Linked DNA regions of Homo sapiens: all the other regions are linked to region 1. Evidence: promoter capture Hi-C in 16 types of primary human blood cells and fetal thymus (Javierre and others, 2016). All regions are on one chromosome and are shown on one strand. The core of a region is centred on a gene start or on the middle of the fragment in contact, and the rest is flanking DNA. Distances in the headings are between cores, read along the strand shown. Region 1 holds the start of GSTM4 (glutathione S-transferase mu 4). Region 2 holds the start of LINC01397 (long intergenic non-protein coding RNA 1397). Region 3 holds the start of STRIP1 (striatin interacting protein 1). Region 4 overlaps AHCYL1 (adenosylhomocysteinase like 1). Region 5 holds the start of UBL4B (ubiquitin like 4B).

The links. Contacts are between HindIII fragments. The CHiCAGO score rates a contact against its expected background, and 5 or more counts as called.
Region 2: a contact is called between the fragment with the promoter of LINC01397 here and the fragment with the promoter of GSTM4 in region 1, in 2 of 17 cell types (neutrophils and endothelial precursors). The highest score is 6.2, in neutrophils.
Region 3: a contact is called between the fragment with the promoter of STRIP1 here and the fragment with the promoter of GSTM4 in region 1, in 7 of 17 cell types (non-activated CD4 T cells, M0 macrophages, M1 macrophages and 4 more). The highest score is 6.8, in non-activated CD4 T cells.
Region 4: a contact is called between a fragment that was not itself captured here and the fragment with the promoter of GSTM4 in region 1, in 2 of 17 cell types (M0 macrophages and erythroblasts). The highest score is 7.2, in M0 macrophages.
Region 5: the fragment with the promoter of UBL4B here is called in contact with the fragment with the promoter of GSTM4 in region 1 in 5 of 17 cell types (M2 macrophages, naive B cells, M0 macrophages and 2 more); the score reaches 7.4 in M2 macrophages.

The regions. Positions count from the first base shown.
Region 1 is chr1:109,654,849-109,657,348 of GRCh38, reverse strand. It overlaps GSTM4 (glutathione S-transferase mu 4), which reads right to left and starts at 1,250. Exons shown (of 8, transcript NM_000850.5): 1 at 924-1,250; 2 at 562-637; 3 at 70-134. The coding sequence starts at 959. RefSeq lists enhancers at 24-609, 1,483-1,532. The HindIII fragment of the contact is 5,301 bases long and covers 1-2,500 here.
Region 2 is chr1:110,081,300-110,083,999 of GRCh38, reverse strand. LINC01397 (long intergenic non-protein coding RNA 1397) reads right to left here and starts at 1,312. Exons shown (of 4, transcript NR_126382.1): 1 at 1,148-1,312. The HindIII fragment of the contact is 6,914 bases long and covers 1-2,546 here.
Region 3 is chr1:110,033,272-110,035,971 of GRCh38, reverse strand. It overlaps STRIP1 (striatin interacting protein 1), which reads right to left and starts at 1,348. Exons shown (of 21, transcript NM_033088.4): 1 at 1,155-1,348. The coding sequence starts at 1,334. It overlaps LOC105378895 (a long non-coding RNA gene), which reads left to right and starts at 533. Exons shown (of 3, transcript XR_947693.3): 1 at 533-563; 2 at 2,541-2,623. RefSeq lists silencers at 754-823, 1,064-1,283 and an enhancer at 1,284-1,673. The HindIII fragment of the contact is 6,759 bases long and covers 146-2,700 here.
Region 4 is chr1:110,007,044-110,009,743 of GRCh38, reverse strand. It overlaps AHCYL1 (adenosylhomocysteinase like 1), which reads right to left. Exons shown (of 17, transcript NM_006621.7): 2 at 599-710. Among named protein-coding and RNA genes, the nearest start is that of AHCYL1, 24 kb to the right of the region's middle. The HindIII fragment of the contact is 1,737 bases long and covers 428-2,164 here.
Region 5 is chr1:110,111,108-110,113,807 of GRCh38, reverse strand. UBL4B (ubiquitin like 4B) reads right to left here and starts at 1,365. Exons shown (of 1, transcript NM_203412.2): 1 at 1-1,365. The coding sequence starts at 1,273. The coding sequence ends at 749. The HindIII fragment of the contact is 8,258 bases long and covers 1-2,700 here.

The sequences.
Region 1 (2,500 bases), core at 1-2,500:
TGGGGAGAGGAGATGCAGTCAGAGACACGTCGCACTTTCCCCCAAAACCGCCCCTTCCCCTGCACCTACATTGGGAAAGTCCAGGCCCAGCTTGAATTTTTCATTCAGCCACTGGCTTCTGTCATAGTCAGGAGCTGCCGTGGGGAAGAAGAAGTGAAAACAAACCTCCCCAGAGCCCAGCCCTCCTTCCCGGGGACCCTCCCAAGGAACCAGTGGCAAGATCCCTGAGACAGGTGGATCTAGAATCTGACCACTCAGTCCCACATCCCAGGGTTCAGGGACAAAGAATCCCGCTGAGGGCTCTGGACCCCACACGGCTAAGGCTTCCAGGGTTTAGGGAAGCTCTGAGGGACACCCAACCCAATTAAACAGGGGGCCCAGCATCCCGCCCCAGCATTCTGCCTTGCAAGGCCACAGGACTCCCTCACCGGGGCTCAGGGAAGGGACAGCCTGCAGCTCCAGCAGGGGAGGCCTGCAGAGGTAGCCACAGGTGGCCACCATGGGTTGCTTGGTGCCAACTCAGCGTGAGTGGGCAGAGCCCGGACACAAGGGTGTCATTACCGTCCCCCATCGTATACTTCTTTTCCTCGTAGCTTGAGTCTGTGTATTCCAGGAGCAGGCGGATGGCGTGGGCCAGCTGGAAGAGATGGCCCGCAGGTCGTGTCAGAGATGGAGGGTCCCTGACTTGGTGACTTTCTCTGCACCAGGTGAGCCCCTAGTCTACACTGCACTGCACCCCCCCCCCACCCCGGCGCACGCACACACACACACACACACACACACACACACACACACACAGGCATGCACAGGCCCTCCTGTGAGAGATAGCCCTAAGGAGGGAACCGTCCCTAGAGCCGGTCCCCAGCCGCTCGGCACTTCCCGCCCACGCGCCCGGTCCCACAGTGCAGCGGACCCTCACTCACCCCGCGGATGTCCCAGTACCCCAGTGTCATGGACATGATGCTGGTTGGTGTCGATTCTGCAGACAGGCCTCAGCTGGGCTGAACTGCGACCTCCTCTGGGGTTCCCGGCACGCAGGGGCTGGACCTAGCGCCAGACCCGCCCCCTCGGCCCCGCTGCGCCCGCCGATCTTCAAGGTCGTCACTTCCAACCGGCCGATCTTCAAGGTCGTCACTTCCAACCAACAGGCGCGGGAGGCACGGAGCAGGTTGCTGGATCCTCACTGGCTGGAAGGAGTAAGATCCACCGCCACCTCCGAGTGTTCAGGGAGCAAGGTCCGGAAGCACTAGGAGGGGCTCGGCCTCGCCAGCTTCCGTAGCCCCGCCCCGCCCCGCTCCGCTTCGGACCTCTGCTGGGTCCCCAGGGACTCGGCTGTGCGCGTGAGAGTAAAGCCAGATCGTAAGAGAAAAGTTCTTCCCCCGTTTCTTCTTCTCCGGACGTCGCCCAGCCTTCTGCCTCTCGGCTGCCGAGTTCCCACAGGCTCTGGGAGACTGAGGCTGCCAGGGTCAGACTAAAGAGAGGTCTCAGAGAGTTTAATTCAACACTTCTTGGCTACTAAGTCTTAGAAGTCTGATGGTGTGCTCTCTCTGCTGAGTTGGGGAGCGTGAATGGAGGCTATGTCACCGAAGCTGATAGAGCTCAGTCTCTGTTGCAGATGCTCCCGACCCTTTTGCATTGGGCCAGTTCCCCAGCTCTGAGACTGGGTCCAGGCTCAGGAAGTGGCCTATGTGTCAAGGTGGATTCCCATGTAGGTTTGCCTACAGCAAGACGATAGCACCATGCACACACAAGTGCTTGGACTTCTGAATAGTTATACTTCTCATTATACATTAAGACATTAAGAATGTGTCATTCTGAGTCTTTTTTTTTTTTTTTTTTTTGGAACGGGGACTCGCTGTGTTGCCCAGGCTGGAGTGCAGTAGGGCGATCTCGGTTCATTGCAACCTCCGCCTCCCGGGCTCAAGCGATTCTCCTGCCTCAGCCTCCCGAGCAGCTGGGATTACAGACGAGCGCCACGACGCCCTGCTAACTTTTTTGTATTTTCTGTAGAGATGGGATTTCACCGTGTTGACCAGACTGGTCTTGAACTCCTGGTCTCAAGTGATCCACCCGCCTCCGCCTCCCAAAGTGCTGGGATTACAGGCATGAGCCACGGTGCCTGGCCTGTCATTCTGAGTTTATCCATCTTGAGCTGGGAAAGATAAAATGTCTAGGTCCAATTGTGAAGATGATTTTTTAAGAAAGCTAACACTTATGAGAATAATTATGAAAGAAACAGAATTGATATTGTTACATTAGTATTCACCCATTTGGTCATTCCTTTATTGAAACAACAGTTGTTGAGATCCTACCATATTCCAGGCACTGGGAATAAAACAATCCTTCAAAAACACTGTACTTTGGCCACCTACGACTAGAAGTCAGGTGGGAACTACAGGGGAGAGATTTTGAAAATACGGGACACTTCTTACTGTTTTTGCACACTGAGAGGCAGTGGAGTGGGAGAGGGGTTGAGTGTAGGAGAGAGAAGCGGTGCCTG
Region 2 (2,700 bases), core at 63-2,562, 430 kb before region 1:
GCACAGGGTGCGAAGCTGGAGAGGAGCTGAGAGCCGCCGCCACTGCCGCTGCCGCGCCTGGACCCTCCCTCCGCAGTCCCCGCACCCACGCCGAGACTCAATTACTTTCAGGTGTGGACCATTTAATAAAATAAATCTTCCGGGGCAGGAGGCAAGTTTTTAGGGGCCAAACTCAAAGCAGCCGATTTCTAATGAATAAAGAGGGGCTTCCCTAAAATATCATACGGTTTTGGCGGAGGGGGAACCGAAGTTGGGGAACAGGGAGTGTCTCTTCCTGAAGTGATACTGTCATTGGCTGGGTGGAGAGGCCCGGAGAGACTTACTTTCTGTCGCTTTCTGACTCTCCTTGTCTCTGTCTCCAGCCATCTCTGTTCTTGAGTACATCAGAATGGAATCAACGGTTTTTGCATCGAATCACCATTAAACCAGCCAGATCCTCCCCAAGCGGAGACCCAGTGAAACTGAAAGCTCTTTCCCTCACCTCTTTCTCTTTGTTTCTCCTTTTTCTCCATCATCCATTGCCCAACATTCTCTTCATCTGAGATTTCCAAACCCGGCTTTGCAATACTCCAGGGAGACTCCAATTTACTCTAGGGCTTTGGGAAATGCTCAAAATGAAATAAACTTTAATTGACTTTAATTATTTAACTGCAAGTTATAGACCCCTGATTGGTCAGGGGAAGCAGAGAGGATGTTGGTGAATCAAACAAACCATCCCAGGATGTCACAGCTCCCTGGAGGTGAGGAATGCTGGCTTCAGCATTTCGGGGCTCAGGAACGAATCTGGGCTCCGGAAGAGAAAACCAAGTTCCCAGGAGAGTGGGGATTTGATTTCTTAAGGTTTGGGGTCAAGGAAGGCTCTCACTGACAAGAGGGACTGGACACTCTGTCCTACCCTGGGCTGCCTCCCACACCCCCTTGCTAACCATCTCCATCCCGGTTTTTGGAGGATGAAGGGAGTGGGTTTCTTCCTTCCCACTGCATGTAAAATCCTTCAGTAAGGTCTAGTGACACTGGACAAACTGCTTCCTTCTCTGTTTGCTAGAAAATTCAGACCACAACACAACTTTTGTATGAATTTCCCAGGAATCGGAGCTGATGTAAACACAGTCTATTATGGTTCTGCTCTTTTAGAAGAGTTACTCACCCCAAAGTCTCAGAGGGCTCCTTCTGCCTCCTCACACGGCCAGATCTAGGAAGCTGGTGGAGGGCAACTCACTCTGATGCAGCACCTGACAAGGGCCCACATGTTTCCCGTGCAGAGAACAAATTTGCCCCATTAAAGCGTTACTCTGTTGGGGAAAAGACTGATGCAATATTGGAAACATGCTGGGCCCACTGTGAGAGCCGGAAGAAGAGGCAGATCTTCCCAGGAAGGCAGCAAAGGCCAGTGGGCGAAACTATTCTTGCCACATCCACCCTCACTTGGCCTGGTAAATTAAGGGAGGGATTATTGACCAAAACATCTGCACAGAGCAAGACTATGGTGCTGGTGGTGTCATTACAGGGAGGGCATCTGGGGACAGACAGGGGAAGATGGTGCCAGTGTCTTGGGGAGCAGCCAGGGGAGTGTGACTTGTCCACCTGAGCTTGGGGCCAGACTGGAAAGGGACCATGTAGCTACCAAGTCCACTTCCAAGAGCCTGAACTTTAATGGAAAATAATTCCATAGTTTGGGTCCCAGCGACACTACTGATCTAAGTAGCTTATTAACAAATGGAAAATATATAAACCACACAACAATTGCCTCTAAGAAAAAATGTATTAAAATCCCCCCAAGTTATTTGCAAAATAAATAGCTGAGACCATATGGGTGAGGGGGAGAGTGGCTGTATCCTAACTAGCTGTGTGCTCTTGGCAAAAGTTCCCTCTCTAGGCCTCTGTTCCCTCATTTCTAAGTGAAGATGGCAAACTAGATCAGGGGTTCTCAAATTTTAGAGTACATTAAGATCACCTAGAAGCAACTTGTGAAAACAAGGATTGTTGGGCCCCACCCCGAGAGTTTCTGATTTAGTAGCTCTGGGGTAGGGCCCAACAATTTGCCTTTTTTTTTTTTTTTTGAGATGGAGCCTCGCTCTGTCACCCAGGCTGGAGTGCAGTGACAAGATCTCTGCTCACTGCAACCTCCACCTCCTAGGTTCAAGCGATTCTCCTGCCTCAGCTTCCTGAGTAGCTGGGATTACAGGTGCCTGCCACTGTGCCCAGCTCATTTTTGTACTTTTAGTAGAGTCGGGGTTCCGTCATGTTGCCCAGGCTGGTCTATGAACTCCTGACCTCAAGTGATCCACCCACCTCGGCCCCCCAAAGTGCTGAGATTACAGGTGTGAGCCACCACACCCGGCCATAATTTGCCTTCCTAACAAGTTCCTAGCTGTTGCTTCTGCTGCTGGCCTGAGGCCTATACTTTAAGAACCTTTGGACTCGATGATGTTTAAGCTCCCATCCAGAACCAACATTCTGTTCTATCCCATACTCCTATATTTCCCCTGCACACCCTAGAGTGTTTACAGCCAAATACGAGAGGCCGATGTTTTTACACCCAAGCTTGTACCCCCTGTCATCAATGCAGAATAAATCTTTCAGCTGGCCCACAGAGACTGGTCACCCTGCCCACTGAGGGATTCCTGACCTCTCAGGAAAGATATTCCAATTTGAACTCCTCCTTCAGCTGGCTGACTACAGCGCCCGAATCCTCCAACA
Region 3 (2,700 bases), core at 99-2,598, 380 kb before region 1:
CCCACCATGCCAGGGCTCCTAAATGGTCAGTGTTTTTGTTTTTTTCAAATAATTCACTCCAAGCTCAAATTACGTCTACTTCGGGCTTGCCAATTGTTGACATGTTTTCTCAGGGGTTTAGCCTTGCTAACAAAAAATAAAAGCTTCTGAGGAACTGATTCCACAGGTCTAAAGGTAGTATCATTGCTCTTTGGTATGAATTGGTACATTATGCTTGGACAACTAGGAATTCCCTCTCATTAACTTGGCTGATCAGTTTGGCTGCTGATCAATCTAGGAGATGGCATAGTAAGTGCTCTGGGAACCTGCTCATTAAGAAGCCCTAAAACTCCGCGACATGAGTATCTTCATTCATGAATTCTGCAAAAGGAGGCAGTGGGAGGAATTCCTTAACTTGGGGTGAGGTTACTAGTCAGTTCCAGACTATGCCATCTCCAGAACGGCAGGAACGGCTCACTAGCGAGACAGGAAGGAATGTTGGGTCCTAACGCATGCTTAAAATGTCTATTTCTCATCTTTAACAGTTCAGTATCAGGCGCACTGGGCACAATAGCCCACCACAGGTACTGTTAACCCATGGCCTGATCTGGCTCAGGTCAGAAGAACAGGACATGTTTCCCCCTCCTACTCTACTCTCAATGATAATTAGCTCGGTCCGGCTCTAAGTTCCTTCCAGATCCTCGCCGGCGCCTTCCCTGCCCACACGCGCCTTCCTCTGCGAGCGGCAGGACCCAGGAGCTGGAGCCCGCGTGCCAGGGACAGACGCCCGAGATGATTAGGTTGGGGGCGCGGCAGCCCAGCGCCCTGGAGTGCACCAAGACCCCCGACTCCTCACCCCCGAGCTGGGGCGAGAGCGGCTTCCCCAGGGGCTAGGGCCTCGAGGCCACGCCCACAGTCGGGGCCCAGGGGAGCAAACCAGCAGTCGCCGGCCACGGGAAGCTCTCCCGGGCGGCGGAGCTAGAGCAAGGACTCATGCTCCAGACCCCAGGAGCTGCCAGCCTCGCTTCCTGCTCCTTTCGCTGTATAGTGACAGTTCTCGGCCGGACTCTACCGAGCCCTCCGGGAAGCCCAACCTGGCCCCTAGAGTGGCCCCGGGCCCGGGACCCCCGGCGCCGCCCGACCCGGTGCGAGCCTCGCCCCCCGAAGCTCCTGACCTCTGAGTCTTTGCGCTGGTTGCGGTTGAACTCGCGGGCTTTGCCCCCAGGCAGGAGGCCCGCGGCGGCCCGCGGTGCCCCGGGTGGTGGCTGTGCGGCTGCCGGCGGCGGAGGTGGCGGGGGCTGGGGCTGTTTGTTGTTCACGATCAGTGGGCCCGGACCGCCGACTGCCGGCTCCATCTTGGCTGCTCCACACCCCCAGCTTAACTCGCGCACAGCCGCCGTGATGCAACTCTCGCGTGATTTTCTCCAGGAAATTTCCCTGGCCGCCATATTAAGTGTGGCGGCCAGTGTTAGAAGCCATCTTGGCTGACCAATACCTCGCGATATTCTGTCTGCAGTCCTTCCCTTGTTGATCTTTTTAGTTTTCCACCTTCCTTTCAGTTTCAGTTTAGATGTAATTTTATCTGTGAGGCTTCCCTTAGCTTCTTCAGTCAGTTTAGTTACCCCTCCTTCCTCTAAATCGCTTTGCACTTATAACTCATAGCCTTGTTCAAGGCTTAGGCGGAATTTTGTAATGAACAAAATGGATAGGATCCTAGTCTTCACAGAGTTACCGTTGTGACAAGTGCTTGTCATTCATTCATTCAACAAACATTTAATAAATGTCTCCTGTGCACCAAGCAGTGGGATAAAATGAGGAACAAGTGTCTGCAGTCACGGTACATAACAGTGCTTGGTGGGTCAGACAAACAATAGACAAATATAGAGAAATAAATGCTGAAAAGTGTTAAAGGAAAATTTGTTCATGGCACTAATTAAAGATGGTAAGGCAGACTTTATGTAAGAGAGCCCATGGTGATAGTTACAGGGACCACTACAACCAGATCTTGCAGTGAAGAAGAGGAATTAGACTCAACTCTGACTCCAACAAGATATAGTGGGGATTTATAACCAAAGAGCAGGATGAGGGTCAGTGGACGGAAAACTACTAAGAGAAACATCAAGGATAAGAAGTTTCTTGCTAAACTGACCTAACAGGATTATTGCTGAAAGCAGGACAGGGTGCTAAGATGTTGAGGGTGGTCAGATACCGAGTGCTATGGTTTGACTGTGTCCCCCAAATTCCATACGTTGGAAACTCAATCCTAAAGTTCATATGTTGATGGTATTTGGAGGTGGAGCCTTGAGGGGGTGATTAGGATTAGATAAAATCGTCAGGGTAGGGCCCCTGTGATGGGACTGGTGGCTTTATAAGAAGAGGAAGAGTGATCTGAGCTGGCACACATGCTCTTGCTTTCTCACCGTGAGAGGCTCTCTACCATGCAGTTTAAGAAAGCCCTCACCAAATGCAACCCCTCGACTTTGGGCTCCCCAGACTCCAGAACTGCAAAAAATAACTTTCTTTCCTTTATGAATTACCCAGTGTTTTGTATTCTGTTATAGCAACAAAAAATGGATTAAGACGCCAAGAGTGGAGAGTCCCTGCACAAACTGGATTCAACAAGGACAGAAAGGAAGCCCAAACGGTTAGTCCTAGTAGGCAGAGGACTCACAGGAGCCTGACTAGAGTTTTGGCCAAAGAAGAGAATCTTTGTCAGAAGTA
Region 4 (2,700 bases), core at 47-2,546, 350 kb before region 1:
AGACTTTATTTACAGAGAGTTAAGACAGGAGGAGAGAACTAAAAAGAAACAGAGCTGGAGTTACATTACAGTAGTCTGAATCTTTCCTGCTCCAGAGTCTAACAGGGGAGGATATTCCAACAGAAAGAATAACCTAATAAATAAGAGAAGCCAAAATACTAATTTTATTGTTACAATCTAAGCAGTCTTGGAGACAAGAAAGAAAGAGATAGGTGACAGGGTATATTTTACACAAAGAAATCGTGCTTCAAAATGCACTTCTTTTTTAAGTCCAATTCTGTCAGCCAAAATAGCATTGATTTCTTCCTTTTGAAATGGGCGGATCAATGTGGGAATGGGAACTAGCCCAGTCCTACCAACTGGGCACTGGCCACAGACCACACACACAGACAGCCAGGGGGAAGAAAGTCTCGAGTCGACAAAAGCTTCCCCAGCTACTAGCTTGGCTGCAGAACATTCCCACTGCCCAGCCACTAACAGTTTTCAGCACAAAGGTGGGCAGTCATAACATGAGGTATTTTCAGATTGCTAAGTGAAGAGCACTGGTAGCAAACAGGGAAGAGAGATTAGAGAGGACATGGAGTTCATTCACACCTACCTGAACTGTAGCTGTCAGTGGAGGACTGTGAGATCGAGCGAGACAAAGATCTTCGGCCAGTTTTGGTGGGGAATTTGGTGAACTCCTGCATGTCATCAGCAAACTGGATTTGCTATACAAAAGGAAGACAAAAAGTTGAAAACTTATAAGGAAAATCCATGAAATGTTTTTTTTTTTAAGGATACATTGTCTTTCCCTAAAAGCCATGTAATCACATGGTTCCTACTAAGCCAGCAACTTTCCCACCAGAAATGGGGGAAGGCCGAGGCTACTCTCTGACTTCTCCCAACACGTCAATCACTGTCTCTTCCCAATTGTTTCTGCAGGATTTGGGAGGAGGGGCTAAGGTTAAGAACCAATTTCGTTTAGTATATGTTCAATTTTATAAATCTTTCTCACATTCCATCAAGTTTTTTTCCCCTCTTATAACCCTGACAGATTAAACTCTTTACCCTTCTTCCCAAATCTTTCAGAAAACAGAATCTCATAGTGCTACTGGGGTTTTTTGGTTTTTGTTTCAGAATATTCCCTTGTAGCACATTCCTAAAGTTGGCAAATGGTCTTGCTTTCTGAAAGAATTATGAAGAGATGCCTAGAAATGGTGATGGGCATTAGGGTGCCAATACTCAGAGCCCAACCATATGTCTATACTTCACAAAGCCAATGTAATATCTCTAGAACCTCCTATCCTATTAAAAATTTAAAATACCAGAATATAATGATAAAAAGAAAATTAAAAACCCACATACACTATAGTAAATTCTAACTCATTAGGACTAATCTGAAGGAAGGAGAAAATAATGACTTGGTAAACTTTGTATTAAAAACTTCCTTAAATGGGCCAGGTACAGTGGCTCACGCCTGTAATCCCAACACTTTGGGTAGATCACGAGGTCAGGAGATGGAGACCAGCCTGGCCAAGACGGTGAAGCCCCGTCTCTACTAAAAATACAAAAATTAGCTGGGCTTGGTGGCGGGTGCCTGTAGTCCCAGCTACTTGGGAGCCTGAGGCAGGGAATTGCTTGAACCCGGGAGGTGGTGGTTGCAGTGAGCCGAGATCGTGCCACTGCACTCCAGCCTGGGTGACAGAGTGAGACTCTGTCTCAAAAAAAAAAAAAAAAAACCCAAAAAAAAAACTTCCTTAAATGAAATAAGCCAGAACTAGATAATTCTTTGAAGAATAAAACTGGCTCTAATCAATAGCAAATAGCTTGCAATTGATATTATTTATAGATTTATAAAGTGTGTAACACTTTTATTACATGGTTTAAACCTTCCTCCCGAACTCCTGTTTAAACTCTGATAAACCCTTTCTTCAAAATAAAATAAACTTCACCCCTGAAATAAGCAGGATGGTTTGAGTATGTGAACTGAGATTCTGTTCACGATCTGACTAAATCTGAAAAGGTTCCCTTGGAGAATCCATTAAGCTAAGTCTTTAGCAAATACTCTGGAAATGTAAATGACTACAGATTAAAATCTTCTCTGTATAATACTGGCAACATGGTTACAGCCACTTTAAAGCCAGGAACAGTAAACTACCCATTAGTTACAGCTGCAAAAGCTTCTCCTCCTCTTTCACATGTACCCTTCAGCTAGGGGAGCACCAGATTGCAGTGCAGCAATCAGGTTTAAGCGGGCAGCCTAGGCACAAGCAGCTAATATAAACAAATTGGAAACTGATTTCTACAGTCAGTAAAGCTAGTTTTGCTGAAGAAATTAATCCAGGACCAAGGTAATGACTTCCAACTCAATATGCTGTTATTTTGATGATGGAAAAAAATACACAGTCAAGAGACCATCAACCCCTCTTAACACTCTCCAGAGGCAGCCCTTCCTCCACCAGCCTCCCTGCTGCTGGCATATGCAGCCTATTCTATTTGGAAGCTACTCTCCCCTCTGCTATGATTCCTTCCCCTGTTCGCCTTTTTTCAAAGGGTTCTGGGCATGTTCCCAGATACCAGGTACATGGAGGGTGAGGGTGGGGGAGGGAACTGCAATAACACTTGCAGTTTTTCATATAGAAAGGTGGCTGTGGCAAGAGAGAAATGTGTTTCTTCAGCAACTTAAAAACCGAATAGTCATAATTTCCCCTTATATTA
Region 5 (2,700 bases), core at 116-2,615, 460 kb before region 1:
ATGTGAGCTGTGATACCTACTGACTGATCAGTCTGGGAGGGTGGGGCATGGCTCTGTTCACGCTGGCCACAGGGAGTGTATGACTTTGCTGAACTTTTTTTCTGCCTGAGGCTCAGTTTCCTGCTATTCTTGGTCTGTGTCTGTCTCCCTGAGGGCTCCAGGGCTGGCACCCGGTACGTGCCCTCCTCCCACTCTCACCTCTGCTGTGCCTGTCCCTTAAGCTGGAAGCACAAGCAGGAGAACAGCAGGGGCAGCCTCACCCAGAAGGCAAGGGGCAGCTACCTGACATTCCTCTCCTCTTGGCTGCTGGGGAGCCTAGGGGAGATGTCACGGTCTGAGGATGGAGGAAAATGAACTCACATTGTCTTTCTGTCCCGAAGGAGAAAGAGGGTCTGCCTAGAACCATGGAGACCCTGGGCCAGGGCTGCTTTCAGCCTGGGGAGCTGCTGGGTATGTGTGGGCAAAGCTGCCAGCACAGGAGGGGACTGTGGCCTTTGGGGCTGCCCTCCGGTGATCAGAACCCTTCTAGGGGAAGCATGGTGATGAGGGTTGGTTCACTCTGCATTTCAGAGGGAGGACCTCAGGCCCAAGAGGGGACAGGGATCCAAAAACCCTCCAGCTGCTTGGAAGGTTCAAAAAGGGGTGTGGACGCATCCACATCAGCAGGAAGTAGTAGGAAAAGTCACCAGGGAACACGTAAGGATGAGGCCGGGAGAATTTTAGCATGCAAATGGGTAGGATGGCCCGTTTACTGATCAGCTGCTGCCTCCTCCTTCTCCTCCATGTCACAGGAGCTCTGAGGCCGTGCCTTCGCCTCAAGCTCCCTCTCTCCAGCTGGCTCCACGTGAGGCTCCTCTGCCAGGAGGTACTGGGCCAGCTGCTCCAGGTGCTCCAGGCTTATCTTCTGCAGGCGCTCCTCGTGCTCCTGCCTTAGCAGCTGCAGCACGGCCTTGGCATCCTGTGGTTCAAAGTGTTTAGCTAGGACCAGTCCCAGCTGGTGCCACAGGGGCTGGGTCTGCGGCTGGTGGGCCTCCTTTAGCGCCATCTTCTCCAAGGGCTGCATGATGACATTGATAGAGGCATTGGGCCCAATGCAGTAGTCAGAGAGGTGCTTGTCATCCTCCAGGAGCTGGCCACGGAAAAGCAGGTGCTGCTGCTCCTCAGGCACCTTCAGCCGCCTGGACACCAGTCTCTTCAGCGTGGCTACACTCTCTTGCCCTGACACCTTCAGACTGCATCTCTGGCCCAGGAGCAGCTTGACTGTGAGGAACATCGGGCTGAGTGGAATCAGGAGGGATCCATGCTCTGGGAGCTGCCCTGAAGATTAGGGGGTCCTGCGGGAGATGTTGGCTTCTCCCTATCAACAAAGGGCTAGTAGTCCCAGGAGACCAGGGACCCAGCTTAGGCAGGCAGCCATTGGCTAGTGCACGGTGATGTCACAATGCTGCGGGGGGGCTCATTTCCAGAGTGGAACTTTTGGGACAGCAAAGGGGTATTTGGGCCCAGAGCATCCTTCCTCCACGAGAGGAGAAAAAGAGCACTAGGAAAGAAAATGTGGGACTGGGGGAAATGAGAGTGAGACTAGGGAAAGGGAGGGAGGGAAAGGACAGGGTGGTGGGAGGAGCATGTCTATTGATTTCTTCAACACATGTGTATTAGGTGCCACCTCTGTGCCAGCACCTGGACCTGGGGAGACAGTCATATTCAGATGGATGACTTCTGCCTTCATGACACTTTCACACTAGTGAGCTGGCTAGCATTTATCAAGCGTCCTCTTTCTGTCAAGCACTTTACACGCTCTTTTGGATTGGGCTTTCCAGCAGCAGACACTGAGACAGGGATTTGAGAACAAGTACTCAATTAGGAGGTGATCCCAGGAGGCACCAGGAGGGGAGTGAGGATGTGAGATGAGGACGGGAGGGAAATCAAAACGTGCATTCATGAGCAGGTTGCCATTGTGGGCAACTAGTATGTTATCCTGCTGGGGAGTTCTGGGAGGTTGCATGGAACACACCTGAGTTGCACCAGGTGTGGTTTTTTTGTTTTTTTTTTTGTTTTTTGAGACAGGGTCTCACTCTGTTGCCCAGGCTGGAGTGCAGTGGCATGATCTCGGCTCACTGCAACCTCCGTTTCCTGGGTTCAAGTAATTCTCCTGTGTCAGCCTCCCAAGTAACTGGGGCTACAGCTGCACGCCACCATGCCTGGCTAATTTTTGTATTTTTAGTAGAGATGGGTTTCTCCATGCTGCCCAGGCTGATCTCAAACTCCCAGACACAAGCAATCTGCCTGCTTTGGCCTCCCAAAGTGCTGAGGTTACAGGCGTGAGCCACCGCACCTGGCCGAACCTGCATCTTTATGCTCTGACTCCTGTCTTTGGCTAATAGAAGTGCTACCTCCTTGGCACTTCTGGTCCACAGGTGTTAAGCAGCATGCTCCTGTGACCACAGAAAAGTAGGAAGCCATCGGGCCCTCAGGAATGTGAGTGCTGAGGGGATGGGGCAGGACAGCCCACAGCATCTGCATCACAGGCCTGCCTAATTGAATCCTCTCAACCTATGAGGCAGGCACTGCCATGATCTCCATCTGCCAGAGGAGAAAGTGGAGGCTTGGCTGATCCTACAGCAAGCAGGCAGAATTGCTCTTGTCTTCACTGTTACCTCATGTTGCCTCCTAAACAAATCTCTGCTCAGTGCCTTTTGT